Regions from separate parts of the Homo sapiens genome. Here all the other regions are linked to region 5. Evidence: promoter capture Hi-C in 16 types of primary human blood cells and fetal thymus (Javierre and others, 2016). All regions are on one chromosome and are shown on one strand. The core of a region is centred on a gene start or on the middle of the fragment in contact, and the rest is flanking DNA. Distances in the headings are between cores, read along the strand shown. Region 1 has its middle 29 kb from the start of MIR4448. Region 2 holds the start of PARL (presenilin associated rhomboid like). Region 3 overlaps ABCC5 (ATP binding cassette subfamily C member 5). Region 4 holds the start of PSMD2 (proteasome 26S subunit ubiquitin receptor, non-ATPase 2). Region 5 holds the start of EIF2B5 (eukaryotic translation initiation factor 2B subunit epsilon).

Region 1 (3,400 bases), core at 85-2,584, 220 kb after region 5:
CACTTCTTCCAGACTTACTGATCCAACTGCCTCTTCCCTCAGCCTCCCAATACCTGGACTCCAGCCCCCTCGGGCTCTTTTCCCAAAAACTATTTATTGAACAGTCACTAGGTCCCATACCTTCTGCTGGGCACAGGAGACCAGAAACAAGACACAGGGAGATTATAGTCCAAAGGAGAAGAGAAACTTTAAGTAACTTGCTCACTTTTTCTCACCCTTTCTCCTCCTCTGAGTTTCTCGGTCATGACCTAGGAGTCCAGGGATGGCACCTGGCCAGTCCTGCCCTGGGTTATTCAGAGACACCCTTTCTCTCTTGTCCTTGGTATTCCCTATCTCCGATCTCCCTTCCTTTCCTAGGATGTGGTAAGATCTAAAGGTCCATTGTAATAAGGATGTGGGCCTGGGGCTGCTAGTTTCTGGGCCCTGGGCAACTCCTCCAGCCACAGGAGTCTTCAGGCACCAGACTCTCCGGACTAGCCCACCACGCTGCCTCTCAGTGCCAAAGGCGTGAAGTCGTCAACAGAAAGGTTTTGCTAGAGCAGCCTCTGTGTATATTTTCTCTGGGATCCTGACAGCTGATCAAAATACAGGGGCTGGATCCCAGCCACCTACCATTTGATATAATCGCTGGCATTCATACTTAGATAATAAGCAAAACAATGTTTGGCTAAGAGAAGTGACACCTTGGGAACATACATGCCATCCCGCCATGCCTACGTATGATCAGGTTCTACCCTTCAATCCCCAGCCGAGCCGTGTTGTACTTGGAGAAAGACTACCACTCCTTCAGTTTCAATACCCTTGGCGAGTCCTGGAGTCACTCTCGGAAATGGGCACATGAAGAAACCTGCTACTTCATCTTCCATAAAATCTCTGTTGGCAGGCCAGGCGTGGTGGCTCACACCTGTAACCCAGCACTTTGGGAAGCCAAGGTGGGCAGATCATGAGGTCAGGAGTTCGAGACCAGCCTGGCCAACATGGTGAAACCCTGTCTCTACTGAAAATACAAAATACAAAAATTAGCCAGGCGTGGGGGCAGGCACCTGTAATCCCAGCTACTTGGGAGGCTGAGGCAGGAGAACCACTTGAAACCGGAAAATAGAGGTTGCAGTGAGTTGATTGTGCCACTGCACTCCAGCCTGGGCAACAAGAGTGAAACTCTGTCTCAAAAAAAAAAAAAAAAAAAAAAAAAAAAATCTCTGTTGGCAGTTGTGTCCACACAAGAAATCCCTTTCAGAATCTGATCTCGGGAAAATTCTCTGCTTCTCAGTGAGGATTCTGGAACACATTGTTTCCTCCTTCTTATTTTAGCCGACAGGAAGCTCAGGGCCCTGTATGTTTATCTCAGCTTGTTTCCCTCATCCTTCATAATATTTTGATCTTTCCTTTTGACCGTCTTGAATATTATTTATTTATTCATTTATTGAAATGGAGTCTCGCTCTGTCTCCCAGGCTGGAGTGCAGTGGCACGATTTTAGCTCACTGCAACCTCCACCTCCCGAGTTCAAGCAATTCTGCCTCAGCCTCCCATGTAGCTGGGATTACAGGCCCGTGCCACCACGCCTGGCTAATTTCTTTATTTTCAGTAGAGATGGGATTTTGCCATGTCGGCCAGGCTGGTCTCGAACTCCTGACCTCAGGTGATCCACCTGCCTCGGCCTCCCAAAGTGCTGGGATTACAGGCATGAGTCACTGTGCCCAGCCTTGAATATTTTTAATATTTTAAATAATAGCTGCCATGAATCATTCTCGGATAAGATGAATATCCTGGGAACAATAAAGACATCATTCTGGTTGGATGGCTAATTCTACTGCCCTTGATGGGGTGCGATTGTGGGTGTGTGTGTTGGGGGCAGGGAGGGGGAGGATGTTGGCTGCCCTTTGCCACACTCTTCGGACACGAAGCCTCTCCCTGTGCCCTGAGATCATCCTGGCTGGAGCACAGCATGGCAGTGGCGAGTCCCACTGCCCCGCTCCCCTTACTCAAAGCTGGGCTTGAAGGAAAGCAGCTCCCCGTGGGAACTCCACTGGAACACTCTGCAAAATTCTAGATGCTGAGTTCATTGCAAGCTGTCAGGCAGCACGTCATCCTTTCTTCATCTACGAAACCTGGGGATGTGCAGAACCACTGGTCATAGAGTCACACCAAGAGTGAAAGAAGGAACTATTGATAATAAAATATGCAAAGCAGGGCTATGTCCTCTAGCGCTGGCCCGTGCCCTGGCTTGCCTGGATGTGGTCCCTGAGTCTGCCCCTCCTTCAGTTAGAGGATCCTGGGTCTCCCAGCCCTCCCCAGAAATAGCTCCTGTCCTTTGGGGCCTTCACATAATGTCTAGAGGCAGGCAAGCCCCCTGTATTTGTTCCCATTCACTCCCATGGGCACTGGGACACATTGGACAAGTTAAACACAACCGCAAGGAATGGAATTCTCCTTCTGTGTTCAGGTGCATGGAGGTAACTGGAGGGGGGTCTCTTCTGCCTAGTTCTCATTCCTTCCACCTCTAGTGGTCTCTGTAGCTCCTTATTTTTATCTCCTCCCTTTCCTAGTCAGGGAGAAGTAGGGGGTGGGCCTACCTTGCTGGAGTGGGGGTGTGGGGCGGAGCAACTTCCAGGCACTGAGTGTGGAGTGGGTACTGGGTTTGGGTCGCTCTAGAAGGGGAAAGGGGTGTTCTTTTGTTCTGAGATCTATCCACAGGAGGGGGTGTTGCGGGATCTACAGTGAGGGTCAGTCTGCTATGGGAAACGGCCCCTGCCTGGGCACAGGCCCATGGCTAAAGCTGTTGATCCAGCATTCCTTAACCACTGTTTCTCCAAGGGCCATGGAAGGGGCTCTCCCCTGGATGGGGTCTGCAGACAGACAAGGGAGGAGAAGAAAGAATACACCAGCTCTGAGGCCCTGGGGCAGCCTCAGGCGGGAAGCACACGCCAGGCCCGGGGGCAGCCTGAGCCACACGGAGGCCTCTGAGGCCAGGCCGGAACCTTTGGAAGTGTGACTAGCTCTGCTTCCTCGTGTGTGTGTTCTCTTAGCCTATAGGAACCTTCCTTGTGAGAATGCCAGCCTGTCACAGCTGGGAGGCAGCTGTGGAAAGAGAACACTGAATTTGGAGACTGAAGGCCTGGGTAGAATTGTGGCCGCCCTCCCACTTCCTTGAGCAAATCACTACACCTGCTGAGCCTTGCCTTCATCTGTGAGGGGATGAAGCCTTCACATAATAGCCTTCACCGTGCTGTAGAGGGGATAGATTTAGAAATTTGGTGTGGAAATACCTCATATAGGGAAGGGGCGCAGCCGCGTCATCTGTCATCTTAGTTGAATTGTTTTTGTTTTGTTTTGAGACGAAGTCTCGCTCTGTCACCCAGGCTGGAGTGCAGTGGTGTGATCTCGGCTCACTGCAACCTC
Region 2 (3,892 bases), core at 570-3,069, 250 kb after region 5:
ACAAACTGATGATTAATGATATTCATATATAATCACGTCTATGATCTAGATCTAGTATAACTCTTGTTGTTTTATATATTTTATTATACTGGAACAGCTCGTGCCCTTGGTCTCTTGCCTCGGCACCTGGATGGCTTGCCGCCCACAGAGAATCTAGAACAATGCCGTATGGGCCCCTCTCTGGGTTGTGTGGAAAAGGCGTGAATTTATTTTAGTTTTTCAAACAAGTCGTGCGCTGGGAGACATCACAAATGCTATTCTTTCTGAGGAACACTTCAATCCTCTTCTCTTGGTGACCTCTATCAGTTTCTCTGGGAAGCCTTCTCCCTGAGCCTCCCATGCCCCTTCCTTCAATTGGGCTATATCCCCCCTCTCTAGACTCCTACAGAGCCTTCTCCCCCAATACAATAGAATCTTTGTGAGGTCAGATATAGTGTCTTCTCAATTGTATCCCCAGGTTTAACATATCACCTGACACACTGTAGGTGCTTAATAAGAGCTTATGGAATGAATGAAGTGCTATTGCAGAGATAAGCATAAAGCGGTATGTGAGTACAAAGGAAGGGAATCTAAATTGGAGTGGAGGTCTGGGAAAGGCCTCCTGGAAGAGGTGACACTTGAGGCTGACCTGAAGGACAAGTCGGTTAGATGTTTCAAGTGGTGAGAACGGTAGCATGAATGCTCAGCAGTGGGAACGCGGATGGTGCCTTTGAGTAATGGCCAATGACTGTATGGCTGCAGCTAGGGTCGGGGGGAATGGAATGGCAGGGAATCAAGCTAACTGACAGGTAGTTGAGGGATGGATTATGAAAAAGTGAAAGCCCGCTTTTCATTTCAGGCTTGGATTTTGTGTTTATTTACTTATTTATTTATGAGAAAGGGTCTCACTCTGTTGCCCAGGCTGGCACGATATCGGCTCACTGCAACCTCCCGAGTTCAAGTGATTCTCCCACCTCAGCCTCTCGAGTAGCTGGGATTACAGGTTTGCGCCACCACGCCCAGCTAATTTTTGTATTTGTATTTGTAATTTTTTTGAGACGGATCTCGCTCTGTCACCTAGGCTGGAGTGCAGTGGTCCAATCTCGGCTCACTGCAACCTCCGCCTCCCAGGTTCAAGCAATACTCCTGCCTCAGCCAACTGAGTAGCTGGGATTACAGGCCCCTGCCACCATGCCCGGCTAATTTTTGTATTTTTAGTAGAGACGGGGTTTCACCATGTTGGCCGGGCTGGTATCGAACTCCTGACCTCAGGTGATCCGCCGGCCTCGGCCTCCCAAAGTGCTGGGATTAAAGGGGTGAGCCACCCCGCCCGATAGGCTTGGACTTTGTTAAAGGCATACAGAATAACACGAAGTGGTGAGATGCAGAAAAAAGTAGTAATTTAAGAAAACTTGGCTTGCCACGTTGGTTCCTCTAGGGACCAGCCCTGCAACTCCGGGCAAGTCCTATCCCCTCTGACCAGAGGCAAAGTGAAACAGTGATGACATCTACCTCTAGCAGTGCTGTGACGATTAAATGCGATCTTAGGCAAAGCGCCTGGTATGTGCCGTTACTCGAAAAAATGACAGTTGTCCCTCTTCGCTCTGGCCCCATCCTCCTCATCTGCAAATGCCGGGAGGCCGGGCCACTCTCGCAGGTCGCTCCCGGAGCCAGCTGAGCAGTGGGAGGGGAAGCGGTGGGACAGAAGGGCGCCAGCCAGTCGTCCGGGCACCGTGGCTGGTTCGGCTGCCGCTCAGCCGCGCGGGGGCGCTCTAGACTGCTCCTCGTGCTCTATGGTGTTGCCTTCGCCCCGGAAGTAGTTGCGCAGCTGGGGTTGGTAAGGTCGGGCCATGGTGGGGCAGAGGTTGGGAAGATGGCGTGGCGAGGCTGGGCGCAGAGAGGCTGGGGCTGCGGCCAGGCGTGGGGTGCGTCGGTGGGCGGCCGCAGCTGCGAGGAGCTCACTGCGGTCCTAACCCCGCCGCAGCTCCTCGGACGCAGGTAATAGCCGCCGCGCTCTGGTCTTCTCGCCTCTTGGTCCCTGAGCTCTGGCCGTGTATCCTCGGGGGCGGAGGCCGTCTGGGCCTCTTGTGCTGGCCCCAGCTCACCCCCTTCACCTTACCTGCCCCTTCTCTCTCCTCTCTCGCCTCCGTCCAGTCCTCGCTTCTCGCTCCCCTTGCCCAGCCCAGCCCCCCGCGAGCCTGCGCTTTCTCCTTTCCCATTGGGAAGGACGTGACTGGAAGGGGAACTAAGCTGAGGGTTCATTGCGTGCCACACTTCATAATCGCGAGTGGAAACTGTTGAGCCAGTTTCTGAAGTGAAGAAGTTAGTACAGCTGGCAGAATGGCGGTTTTTATTCTTTTTCCATCTAATTATAAAGGTTGTGTTCCATTACAACCAGTCGCCTTCTTTAGCTTGTGATCTAAGGGAGGACGAAGTCTGATGGAAGGTATCACTTTGTGTCTGGCAAAGTCGTAGGAGAGGCTTTATTGTTGAATTGAGACAGTGGAAGATTTCGTTTCCGGTTGATTTGGAAAGAAAACTGCCGAACCTTCCGAGTAGAAGTGTGAAGCGTATGGTTGATCAGTATTGCTGATTTTTGCATCACAGTAATTCATTTCTAATTTGAGAGAGAAGAGAGAAATTCCTCACCTGTTTAAGAATCTGATGTGCATTTGGCTTTGAAAATTTTCCTCCTCTTTTGTTCAAAACTTCATTCCTTCCAATTTCTGACTTGGTTAGATGGGTGCCTCGAATCCACCTGATTGCTGATAAGAAACATTGTTTATCAACACGTGGGATAGTCAGTGGTAAATAATCGAGGCTCTAATGTGGCGGAGCCATTGCCTAATCTCAAGGATCACCTGAAGAGTTTGTATGGATTTTATGTCCCAGGCCTCACCCCAGTCCTCCCAAATCACAATCAGGAGAGGGGTGGGTGGAGTGGAAGAACCTATATGTCCGACAAGCATTCCAGGTGAATTTTATCAGGGACTTGTGAAAACTTTACATACATTGTATCTTCATACACTAACATAGATCTGTCAGGCACTAATCTTAAACTCCTGGGGAGGTGGAAAATGAGGACAGATGGAGGTGGTAATCCCATTTGAGATTGCATGGTTTAAGGGGGAAAGAAAAGATTAATACTGGCCGGGCGTGGTGGCTCACACGCCTGTAATCCTAGCACTTTGGGAGGCTGAGGCAGGTGGATCACCTGAAGTTAGGAGTTCAAGACCAGCCTGGCCAACATTGCAAAACCCCGTCTCTACTAAAAATACAAGAAATTAGCGGGGCATGGTGGCGGGCGCCTGTAATCCCAGCTACTCGGGAGCCTGAGGCAGGAGAATGGCTTGAACCTGGGAGGCGGAGGTTGCAGTGAGCCGAGATCGTGCCATTGCACTTCATCTTGAGCAACAGAGTGAGACTCCATGTAAAATAAATAAATACTGTACGTGTATTAGGAAGCAACAGGAAGTGTGTTAAACATTTAAGATTTATGTACACATCACCGTATTGGTTTTAGGAAGGGGAAGCAAAAGAAAACTAATGAGCCTCTAGTAAAAATTGAGTATAAAGACCATTTGAAACAGTGAACCAGAAACACATGAAATGTTGAAGATTAGTATTTAATGTCTGAAAAGCTTGCCATTTGTATAGAAAGTTTGAAAATGACATTTTCGTGGTTGCATAAAAAATATACATGAGAATGTAGGCCTGAAATAGAGCATTTGCCTCTGGTAATAAGTTCTTAAAGTTAATAGTATCAGTTTACCTTATATATAACCTTTATTAGCTATATGTTGACTTCTTATGGCTTTGAAATTAGCGTGCAGAAGAATGACCCAATCCGTGTCATTTGATGTATTAATAATAGGCCTGAAGTGGGACCAGGAATTTGCATTTTACAAGCACT
Region 3 (3,687 bases), core at 736-3,235, 190 kb after region 5:
GCTATCTTGTTAGGCTTCCTCTAGTAATATGTAGGTTTACAAAAATGAGGTCATTGACACATGCTGTTTCATGGCCTTCTTTTAAAACTATCAGTAGGCTGGGCGCAGTGGCTCATGCCTGTAATCCCAGCACTTTGGGAGGGCGAGGCGGGTGGATCACCTGAGGAGTTCAACACCAGCCAGAACAACATGGTGAAACCCCGTCTCTACTAAAAGTCCAAAATTAGCCAGGTGTGGTGGCACATGCTTGTAATCCCAGCTACTTGGGAGGCTGAGGCAGGAGAATGGCGTGAACCTGGGAGGCGGAGGTTGCAGTGAGCCAAGATCACGCCACTACACTCCAACCTGGGTGACAGAGCGAGACTCCGTCTCAAAAAAAAAAGAAAAGAAATGCGTAACTGTAGATCCTTTAGATTTCTAGGGTCAGGACTTGAGTAATTTACTTCTTTTTTTTTTTGAGACAAAGTCTCACTCTGTTGCCAGGCTGGAGTGCAGTAGCACGATCTCAGCTCACTGTAACCTCCACCTCCCAGGTTCAAGCGATTCTCCTGCCTCAGCCTCTCACGTAGCTGGGACTACAGGGGCGCCAGCTAATTTTTTTGTATTTTTAGTAGAGACAGGGTTTCACCATGTTGGCCAGGACGGTCTCGATTTCCTGACCTCATGATCCACCCGCCTCAGCCTCTGAAAGTGCTGGGATTACAGGTGTGAGCCATCGCACCCGGCCCCTTTTTTCTCACTTTCGTTCCTGAATTGCATTCCAAAGACTGAACTTGTCTTCTTTTACTGTCCTTTTTATCCTTGTATAAGAGGTATCTTTGATTCAGTTTTCATTAGTTTTCTAGGCTCCATGCTTCTTTGGCATCAAAACTCTTCTAGCTTTTTTCCTTGCCATTAAAAAAAAAAAAACCTTTTGTCTTTTCTGGCCAATTGATTTTAAAGAACTTTCTAAGGAAGAAAAGGAAAAAGCCATTTCCTGCTTTCTGTTTGAGGGAATTACTTCACGTCAAAACAAGACATTGCTCCAGGTCTTTCATGCTGGAAGGGAATCTTTAGCCAAGCAGGGTGACTCTCCCCAAGCCTTTTTACTGTTCTCTCCCTTGAGCCCATCTGCTGCATTCGTCCCCAGGGGTACACTGCTCCCCTGAAAGCTGACTGATGTCCTTTGTTATGATTTCCCTTTAACACAGGTGAGATAGGCCAAAACAAGCACCACAACTTCATTAAACAGTAGTTAGTGACAGAAGAGAAACAAGAAAAAGAACATAGTGGCCAGGTGCAGTGGCTCACGCCTGTAATCCCAGCACTCTGGGAGGCCCAGGCTGGTGGATCACCTGACGTCAGGAGTTCAAGACCAGCCTGGCCAACATGGTGAAACCTCATCTCTACTAAAAATACAGAAAGTTAGCTGGGCGTGGTGGTGGATGCCTGTAATTCCAGCTACTCGGGAGGCTGAAGCAGGAGAATCTCTTGAACCCAGGAGGCGGAGGTTGCAGTGAGCTGAGATTGCGCTATTGCCCTCCAGCCTGAGCAACAAGAGCGAAACTCCATCTCAAATAATAATAATAATAATAATAATAACCTGATTTACACTCCGGTTCTAATAGGGCTTCTTCCAAGTTTCACGGGTAACTTGGAAACTCTCCTGTGGTCATGTCAGTCAAGGACACCATCTTGAGGACTTCACTGCCTTTCTTACCAGCACATTCCATCAGTGCAAAGGTAGTCAGATTCAGAGGACTCTAAAGTCTTCCAGTCCAGGTGGTCCAAACCTAGGCACCTTTTGTTAAACTGGAACAACTTGACCCATTGTTTCGGGCACCATTCCTTCCTTAGCTTAGATCTTAAAGCCCTGCCTCGGCCCAGAGGGAATGTCTCCTCCCCTCCTATCTGGGAAAGGGGCCAGTAACTGAGTCCCCCAACCCTGAACAGAGTCATTCATTTTTTTTTTTTTTTTTTTTTTTTTTCCTGAGACAGAGTCTCAGTCTGTTGCCCAGGCTAGAGTGCAGTGGTGCAATCTCGGCTCTGGAGTAGCTGGGATTACAGGCACATGCCACCATGCCCAGCTAATTTTTTTTTTTTTTTGTATTTTTTAGTAGAGACAGGGTTTTGCCATGTTTGCCAGGCTGGTCTCAAACTCCTGGCCTCAAGTAATCCACCCACCTTGGCCTCCCAAAGTGCTGGGATTACAGGTGTGAACCGCTGCGCCCACCGGCCTGGAGTCACTCATTTCTAGGAGGAGAACTATCCTGCTAGACGGACCAGGTTTCCTAACTCGTTTCTGGTAGAAGGATGTGAGGATTGTTGCATTAGGAAGATGGGTCCTAATACAGCTTTTTCCAAGTTTCCTGGGCGTTACTTCTTCCAAGTCTTATGGGTGTTTTTCAGGTTCCCATTAGGCTGTTAGACAGAGGTATGCCCAGGGGGTAGATCCCGACAGTGGGGTCGTGGCTGTAGACACTGGGGCAAGGCAGGCTGTTTGCGCCCTCCATGAGTGCTGAAGAGACAGCATCGTGGTGATCTCGATGAGGCCCTCACAAGAGGTCTTTCATGACATGGTGGCACGAGAAAGGTAGGAGGGTCAAGAACCAGGCGTACAGCCAAGGAAAAGTGATTCAACAGCTAAAACCCTGTAGTTCTAAATCTAAACCATGGAACCAAGTTGCAGAAAGGTAGACAGGACTATGGCAAACTTCTTTTCTTTTTGGCTCTGTAGAGAGAGCACCTTTTAAATGTTTATATCCTTTGACACAGTAATTTCAGTTCTAAGATTCTTTCCCAAGGAAATTGTCTGAGGTGGCAGTAAAGTTTCAGCACTAAGATAATAGGACATAACATTATTATAAGTTTTACATAAACTAAATGTTGACCCTTAGAGGGCTGGCTGAACAAGAATACATGCACATGATGGAATGCAACCACTAAAATTTTATCTTGAAAATTTTTTTAAAAGATGGTTGACTGAGTGTTATACAATGCTTTTGTTTTGTTTTGTTTGAAACAGAGTCTCGTTCTGTCGCCCAGGCTGGAGTGCAATGATACGATCTTGGCTCACTGCAACCTCCGCCTCCCAGGTTCAAGTGATTCTCCTGCCTTAGCTTCCCAAGTACCTGGGATTACAGGCACTCGCCATCTTGCCCAGCTAATTTTTGTATTTATAGTAGAGACAGGGTTTCACCATGTTGGCCAGGTTGGTCTCGAACTCCTGACCTCAGGTGATCTGCCCGCCTCAGCCTCCCAAAGTGCTGGGATTACAGGCATGAGCCACCGTGCCCGGCCAATGCAGTGTTAAGTGAAAAAAGCAATTACAATATTGCATTTCTGATATGATCTCAACTCTGAGGAAAGACCGAAAGGAAGTGTGCCTAAAATGATAGAAGTGAGATTATGGGAGATTGATGATGTCATCTCGTATTACTTATGTAAACTTTTCAAATGAAGATTTGGTTAACCTGTTCTGCTGATTACTGTAATAACACTGATCCCCCAAACCTGCTTCTCTGCCATAGTTTCCTATCACAGTAGGGCCATTGACAGCTACTCATTGAGTCGAGGCAAAACCTCCTTCCCGTATGTGTTTATTTATCCCTGGAACTTCTTCAATTCCCCAGCTGCTGCTGTGGCAACAGGAGGCCTTGTCTTAGTCTCTCTCTCAGCCCTAATAAGGGGGTAGGGAGAAAAAAGACA
Region 4 (3,815 bases), core at 1-2,500, 160 kb before region 5:
AAGGAATTCCTAAACTAGGCCTCCACCAGGTTTGAAACAGTTTTACCTTATTCTCCCCAGGGGCCATGTTCTCATAGATTTCCTTCAGTTTGCCATAGTGTGGACGCAGAAATTTGAGAGGCTTGGGCACTGAAGTCATGGAAGTTGTAGAAGAACGAATCTGCCTTCGCAATTCCTCCAGCGCTGGTCGATACAGGGATGTATCCTTCTCCTGATCAAGAGACGACAGGGCTCAGACAAAAAGGAGTCACACCCCTTCAAGTCATAATACAGAGATATTTAACTTAACAACTCCTCCAAGGAAATGCTGTGTCTTATTCATTCATCTGTGATTCCTCAACTCCCTGCACCCTGCCTGGCACAAAAACAAATGACCCAAGTTAAGAGGTAAGAACTCTGCTTCTCCCACAAGAGAAAGCTGCAAAACTGTACAAATACCCTTTGTAACTCTCCTGCCTCCCAACATCATCATAACACTGACCCTAAAATACAGTCCACCGTACATAGCAGTTGCCTCAAAAAAGAATAAAACAAGTGGGAAAGATCCAAACATGCACCGAATCATGTTAACATCGTGACTCACCCCTAGTCGTTCCACGAGCATCTCCAGTTCATCTTGAAGCTGTTTATCCTCTTCAGACTGGAGGGTTGGGAGAAGCAGCTCATGAAGAGAAGGAATCCCAAAGACGTCCTCCTCCCACTTACCCGGGGCAGGTGAAGAATAAGCCTGCCTCCTTAGGAGGGGCCAGGTGGACAAGGAAACCGAGTGGGAATGGGAAGCCCTGGTGAGAAATCAGCCTGGGTTCTGAATCAGGCTCTACTTGAATGCCACTCTAGGAAACGGAGGTGACAATGACCTGCCCGAGTCCACTTCACGCGGCGGTGGTGAGGGTTGGTGGGGACGGCGGAGGTGACAGCGCGGAACGGAGAATGAGGAGCAGAGAGGCAAGGTGCCGGGAGTCCCGAGGGTCGCCCCAACCGCCCTCTCCCTGGCGCGGTGGGGTAGTTGGGTGTCGGGCCTGAGGCCTGCGGAGCCGCCGTGACTCAGCCCCGCAGCCTCCTTCGCCGACTCTCGGGGTCGCGCCTCACCAGCTCCTGTTCTTTGTCCTTGTCCCCGGCATCCCGCCGCTCCTTGCCGCTCGGCTTCTCGTCCGTGCCGCCGGGGGCCGCCGCTGGAGACTGCTGGGGCTGCACCGGCGCCTTGTCCCGGCCTCCCTCCTCCATCTCCGCCGCCACTGCCGGCCCGCTGCGCGCGCACCCGCTCGCACCGCCCTTTTTCCCAGACCAACTCGCGCGCGTCGGTCGCGGCGCCCCTCCTCCTCCAGAGCCCGCCTGCGACCGGAAACGCCGGGGCGAGCCGGGGCGCTCGGCGACCCACCCACCCCCTCGGCCTGAGAGCCCCGCCCTCGGACCCCGCCCTCGGAGGCAGGTGGAGACTACAATTCCCAGCCTCCCCCGCGCCATAGTCGCCCCTGGCCCCCGACCTCTTCGGAGTTTCCTGAAACCCGCGGGACTTGGCCGTGTGGGGTTTGGGTTCGCTCACTGCTGTAGATGGGCGGTCTGCGAGCGGAGTTACCGAGTTTTACTCCGCCACAGGTTTTTCTCATAACGGTGTAAATAGAACCCACAGTGACACTCCAGTTGACTGCGTGGCGCGACAGACAAACTAGATTTCTTGACGTCCAGGACGCTTGATTGCCGCCTGTATAAAGTCTGTGTAACTGTGTCTAGCCCCACACCACTGTGGAATATTAACCTCATTTGGTTTTGTTGTTGTTGTTGCTTTTGAGAAGGAGGCTCGCTCTCTCGCCCAGGCTGGAGTGCAGTGGCGCGATCTCGGCTCACTGCAAACTCCGCCTACCAGGTTCAAGTGATTCTCGTGCCTCAACCTCCCGAGTAGCTGGGATTACAGGCGCCCGCCACCACGCCCAGCTAATTTTTGTATTTTTTAGTAGAGACGGGGGTTTCACTATGTTGGCCAGGCTGGTCTCGAACTCCTGACCTCAAGTGATCTGCCCGCCTCAGCCTCCCAAAGAGCTGTAATTACAGGTGTGAACCACCGCGCCCGGCCTATTAACCTCATTTGATATTCCTCCCCAGTTGAAAGAGAGTACTCTGCTATTCCCGTGGCTACCATTTTAAATACTTTGGGGAGCCAGGTGGAGTTGACATCGATCAATAAAGCCCTGTGCTCCCCGCCAAGTTCTGGAGCTAAAAGCAGAACAAGACAAGGTCTTCGTCCTCTATCTTCTCGTCTTTCCCTGTGAAGCCTTAGAGGCGTGTGACTGACGCGCTTATGTCAGGACTGCTTTCGAGTGATTCCATGCACTTCTTACAATCTTTTGAGATTGGTAGGGTTAGGTCCATTTTACAGAGAAGATCATATCAAGTAGTAAAATGAGGATTTATTTTTTATTTTATTTATTTGTTTTGAGATAGTGTTTCTCTCCTGTTGCCCAGGCTGGAGTGCAATGGCGCAATCTCGGCTCACCACAACCTTCGCCTCCCGGGTGCAAGTGATTCTCCTGCCTCAGCCTCCCGAGTAGCTGGATAAAGAGGAGTTTTAGAAAAAAATCCCTCTACAGATGACTGAAGAAAGCATGAAAATGTATGGACACCGTGAAGCCAGAGATAGAATAGGCAGAACAGTTATGGACTGTTGAATTTTTGTGCCACCACGCCCGGCTAATTTTTGTATTTTTAGTAGAGACGGGGTTTCTCCATGTTGGTCAGGCTGGTCTCCAACTCCCGACCTCAGGTGATCCGCCCGCCTCGGCCTCCCAAAGTTCTGGGATTACAAGCGTGAGCCACCGCGCCCGGCGGAATCAAAATTTAAAGCTCAGTCTTTCAGTCTTCAAAGCCCTTGACTGTTTTAGGCAAACCCCAGAGTTTCTTCTTCAGCTGTGTGTGTGTGTGTGTGCGTGTAAGGTGAGAAAAAAGGAAGTATCTCTTCTCCCTTTCACCTAGTGGGAACACTCAGGAGTCTTCTAGCAATCTTATTTTATGGGTTCTGACACATTGAAGAAAAAGACACCTAGTACAACATATCACAGAGTGAATGTTGGGTAAATGTTTGTGTAGATACGGAAGTAAAGGTCTGAATCCATTTTAAATACCTGTTGCTCTTTTCCACTCAGTGCTTGGATTCTAGGCATGACCTTCCATTGCCATTGCCAATGACTCCCCCAGCGCTGGTCTGCAGACAAAAATTCAACAGTCCATAACTGTTCTGCCTATTCTATCTCTGGCTTCACGGTGTCCATACATTTTCATGCTTTCTTCAGTCATCTGTAGAGGGATTTTTTTCTAAAACTCCTCTTTATCCATGACTTCCTTCTTCTTTTTTTTTTTTTTTTCCAGACGGAGTCTCGCTCTGTCGTCCAGGCTGGAGTGCAGTGGCATGATCTCAGCTTGCTGCAACCTCTGCCTCCCGGGTTCAGGTGATTTTCCTGCTTCAGCCTCCCAAGTAACTGGGACTACAGGCATGCACCACCACACCCCGCTAATGTTTGTATTTTTAGTCGAGACGGGGATTCACCATGTTGGCCAGGCTGGTCTTGAACTCCTGACCTCAAGTTATCTGCCTGCCTTGGCCTCCCAAAGTGCTGGAATTACAGGCATGAGCCACTGCGCCCGGCCTGGAACTGTGTCTTATTCATCTTTATGCTCCTAGCCTCCAGCCTAGCGCCTGGCTTGTAGTGAGCCTTGATAAATATTTGCAGAATGCATGCATGCGGAATGAATGAATGAATGAATGGCTTTGCATTCATCTTCAGGCCATCTTTGTGTATAATAACAACCCACTGGGAGCTGTC
Region 5 (3,627 bases), core at 762-3,261:
CATCAATTTGAACTCAAAATCCTGCTGAAGCCTAGGGTACACAAAGTAGCCTGGGAACACGCTTCACGTCAGCTTTCCCCTTCTGCAATCCATATAACATTTAGGAACTGTCTGATGGAGACCATGCTAATGTCCTAGTCTTTACATCCTGGACTTCCATAAGCAATGCGATTCCCTAGTTTTCAAGATTTCAACAAACATGTAAGTGCTCACTATATGCTTGGGACTGAGCTAGGCAGTGGGAATACAAAGATGACAAGGAGCTCATTTATATCCTTGAAGGTGAGAACAAACAAGATTTAGAAACTCAGTGGGAAAACAAAGATGTTATCATTGTAACTTCCATACTGAAGCCATTAAATAAAAGCAAAGTCCACTGGCACCAAACTTTATAATGAGATTCAGAAAAAACCCAAGTTTATTCTTTAATCTTTGTCACAGAAAACCCAAGACAGACAGATACAAAGTTTCAGCTGCTCACCTCCTGATAAGTGTAGAAAATACCCTTAGAACTTACAATGACATCTAAGTAGACACATTTTTCCCCTCTCACATTTCCCCTTAGTTACATTCATCCTGAAAAAACTGGAAAAAGATGGCGAAACATGGAAAGAAAAGTTGCAGGGCCTTACAGTAAATGTTCTTTGATTTGAGCAGCTTTCCAGCAACAAAAGACAAATGTTTCCTGTACACCTGTGGCAGTCAGGAATTCCAGAGTGTAGTCAATTAATGCCACATTGGCCAGGGGCAAGAGGACCTGAAGGATACAAGATGAAAAAAAACTTGAGGTCTCGAATCCCTTTGGGTACCCCACTGCAACAATTTTCACTCCTCTATTCGTATTTCCAAACAGTGTAATTTTGCTGTATCTTTCCAATTCAAAGATAAACAGGTTCCTGCCTTTGATGTTCATGCCATGCTCTAAGCCTGAGTCTGAGACATTGCAATTTGGGGATGGTAAGTACAGAATCTATGTGCCTTGTATCAGACACAGAGCTGTGACAGAATGGCAGTTCACTGCTGGCAAAGGATAATACTGGAAATCAATCATATTTCCATAAATTTAAGCATTGCTAAGGCCTTCTTCCCCATAAGATTTCCTTCCTTGATCCCTTTCTAAGTGTCAGAGGTTAGCCATCTCCCGTCACTTGTCAAAAATGAACAGCCATTAGGCTTTTTCGAGGGAATTAGAGAGGATTTTCCTTAAATCCAATGCAGTTCCCTCTTTCTGAACTGACTGCTGAACGACCCAGCTGAGTCCAATACCCCATTGTCTAGACAACTCGGGGGCTGATGGCAATCAACCACTAAACCCATTTTGTCCTTTCGACAGATAGCACCGGCTATCATTAGAACCTGGAAGGAAAAAAAAAATACACTGCCTGAGATCTAGCCCGCTCTTTTTAAGGCATATTACCGCCCTTTCAGAGGCAAAAGGTCGTTTCTTTTCACCTAAGCAACCGTCATCGGCAAGGTTAAAAGCGGCGCAGCCTCTTCTAGGGGCACTGAATCCCCGCGTGAAGGCTTCTCTCAAGCGCTGTTTCTACATTTAGCTCTCTTCATTCCTTTCAAACCCGAGGTGGACAGCATTACGAATGCCCAAATCTGCCGGCCACTAACTTGGTCAGCAGTCATCAGGGTTTAGACAGTCCCTCTGCATCCGGTTTTAGGATAACAGCATAGACGCAGGTCCTTCAAGGGCATGCTGTTGTAGTTAGCCGAAATGAGAACTTGCTCCAGCCCTGCCACCCTTCCTGCCCTCTGGCTGCTCGCGTGCGCGGCGCTCACCCGAGGCTGGTCCTTGGAGATGGGGAAGAAGCGGCGATCGAAGCTATCGGCCACCAGAACTGCTTGTAGGGGCGGCGGCGGTTCCTCCTCCGCCCCTCTGGCTCCCCCGCCACCGCTGCCTCCCGGCCCCGCGCCGCTGCGCTTGTTAGCCCGACTAACCACCACACCAGGCGGCGCCACTACAGGGGCCGCCATCTTCTTCTCTCACGGTCACCACTTCCGCAAGGAAGCTGCCACCGCACGCAGTAGGGGACAAAAAGGATCCAGCACTTGAAATGCGATGGACTAATTAACGAAGGGAAGGAGACGAGGAGGGAGCAGTGCGCATGCGTCTTCCCCGGGAGCCCACAGGGGTCTGAGGTTGATCCCGGAGGCGCGAGGAGTCGGTACGGGTCACGGTTGTCCCGGCCCCTGAGGCGCAGGGTAGGAGTGGGGTCCCATAGATGTCAGACTCGGTCTGCAAGTATCGTCGGCCTTCATTTGTAGGTGAACAAGCCGAGATTCTTGTGGCGTGATAGGACTTGTGGTCGCCACGAAGGGGCCAGCTCCATCGGGAATCTGTAATCGCCCAGCAGTTTCCCCGCCCCGCGCATGTGAAATATGTAGCCCTCCGTATTCATTCTAGAAACTTCTGGGAACCCAGCGCCTTGGGGAGATAGAACCGAGCCAGATGTTCCCCCGCTGCGAGGAACTCAGAACCTGCATAAATAGAGAAGGTGGCAGGCATATAGTAGGGAGACCAGTAATTCCATTGAGCGCTGATTTTGGGCCAGGCACGATACAAGCATTATCTCTGCAAAACATCTTATTCATTCGTTCAGCAAACGTTTCTTGAACTCTCAGAAGGATGAAGGAAGTTTACCCAGCTAGTAAGTGGAAGAACTGGTATTGGAACCCGATCTGTCTGACTGCAGAGTTCCACAATCTTGCTGCCAAGTTATGTGGGGATAACAATGACTATTTTATGTCATCTATTCATTCTTCCAGCCTATCAGCCTCCTGTGTCTTAAGCAGAGTGGAGACGGGGGTGGATCCAGGCGCACCAGTAAGTTGTACTGGAGTTAAGCAGTAAGCTTTCTGGGCAGAGGAAAGTGCGGGCGTAAAGGTCCAAGGCTTGAAAAGGCGCAGCAGCACCTTTTTCTCTTTGGGGAAAGAAGCGGTGGCTGCGGGGAATAAACCAACTCTGTAGAGGGGCGGGGCCGTGGGAAAGCGGTGGAACGGGGCAGGAAGGCTGGGCGTCATTTGGGAGGCAAGGAACTTTTCTGTAAGGCATAGCGCCCTTTCTGCACGGGACCTGTCCAGGTTCCACGCCACAGGCTTCTGCAGTTCCTGCAAACTGTTCCCATCCCGCCCCGCGTTGCACGTCGGGATTTGGAGTTCGCGATGCTGAGAGCTGTTTCCACGTGGCGATTCCGACTTGACCCGTCGTGCTCCGGCGCCCGCCTAGGGGGACCGAGGAGTTTGTCATTTCTTGCCTCGTTAGGGTGCGGAACGAAAACCATTTGATTTATCCTAGAAAAGGAAAGGCTGAAGCCAACTAAGTAAAAGTTTTCCATTAAATGAATGCACGTTGTAGAAAAGGAATGTTCAACTGCCCTACAAATCCAGAGGTAGAAATGGGGGAGGGGAGAAGGAATTAAATAGGACACACACACACACACACAAACACACACACACACACACTCTTGGGGGGGTGTTTGGGTATGGAAAGTAGGTCCGATTGCAGAATTTATTTTAAATGATTCCCGCAACCTTGGGAAGTTGGGAAGTGGTGAATCCGCTGCCGAAAGGCATTTGTGCTTATGGTAAATCCAGGTCTTAAAATTCTGTAGACTGGTA

The links. Contacts are between HindIII fragments. The CHiCAGO score rates a contact against its expected background, and 5 or more counts as called.
Region 1: a fragment that was not itself captured here is called in contact with the fragment with the promoter of EIF2B5 in region 5 in 1 of 17 cell types (M2 macrophages); the score reaches 6.0 in M2 macrophages.
Region 2: a contact is called between the fragment with the promoter of PARL here and the fragment with the promoter of EIF2B5 in region 5, in 5 of 17 cell types (erythroblasts, megakaryocytes, M2 macrophages and 2 more). The highest score is 7.3, in erythroblasts.
Region 3: a contact is called between a fragment that was not itself captured here and the fragment with the promoter of EIF2B5 in region 5, in 1 of 17 cell types (M2 macrophages). The highest score is 5.1, in M2 macrophages.
Region 4: the fragment with the promoter of PSMD2 here is called in contact with the fragment with the promoter of EIF2B5 in region 5 in 3 of 17 cell types (endothelial precursors, M2 macrophages and M1 macrophages); the score reaches 7.6 in endothelial precursors.

Annotation. Positions count from the first base shown.
Region 1 is chr3:183,914,217-183,917,616 of GRCh38, reverse strand. No RefSeq gene overlaps it. Among named protein-coding and RNA genes, the nearest start is that of MIR4448, 29 kb to the right of the region's middle. The HindIII fragment of the contact is 6,021 bases long and covers 1-3,400 here.
Region 2 is chr3:183,882,807-183,886,698 of GRCh38, reverse strand. It overlaps PARL (presenilin associated rhomboid like), which reads left to right and starts at 1,819. Exons shown (of 10, transcript NM_018622.7): 1 at 1,819-1,977. The coding sequence starts at 1,853. RefSeq lists enhancers at 1,370-1,599, 1,640-1,689 and silencers at 1,639-1,789, 1,900-2,059. The HindIII fragment of the contact is 9,960 bases long and covers 1-3,622 here.
Region 3 is chr3:183,938,743-183,942,429 of GRCh38, reverse strand. The region is part of intron 25 of ABCC5 (ATP binding cassette subfamily C member 5); the gene reads left to right. Among named protein-coding and RNA genes, the nearest start is that of MIR4448, 54 kb to the right of the region's middle. The HindIII fragment of the contact is 7,094 bases long and covers 1-3,687 here.
Region 4 is chr3:184,296,676-184,300,490 of GRCh38, reverse strand. PSMD2 (proteasome 26S subunit ubiquitin receptor, non-ATPase 2) reads right to left here and starts at 1,250. Exons shown (of 21, transcript NM_002808.5): 1 at 1,090-1,250; 2 at 584-640; 3 at 47-211. The coding sequence starts at 1,224. RefSeq lists a silencer at 1,243-1,582. The HindIII fragment of the contact is 6,965 bases long and covers 1-3,815 here.
Region 5 is chr3:184,133,742-184,137,368 of GRCh38, reverse strand. It overlaps EIF2B5 (eukaryotic translation initiation factor 2B subunit epsilon), which reads right to left and starts at 2,011. Exons shown (of 16, transcript NM_003907.3): 1 at 1,789-2,011; 2 at 633-757. The coding sequence starts at 1,983. EIF2B5-DT (EIF2B5 divergent transcript) reads left to right here and starts at 2,108. Exons shown (of 2, transcript NR_183721.1): 1 at 2,108-2,833; 2 at 3,091-3,627. RefSeq lists enhancers at 1,662-1,731, 2,052-2,111, 2,981-3,622 and a silencer at 1,802-1,911. The HindIII fragment of the contact is 10,653 bases long and covers 1-2,863 here.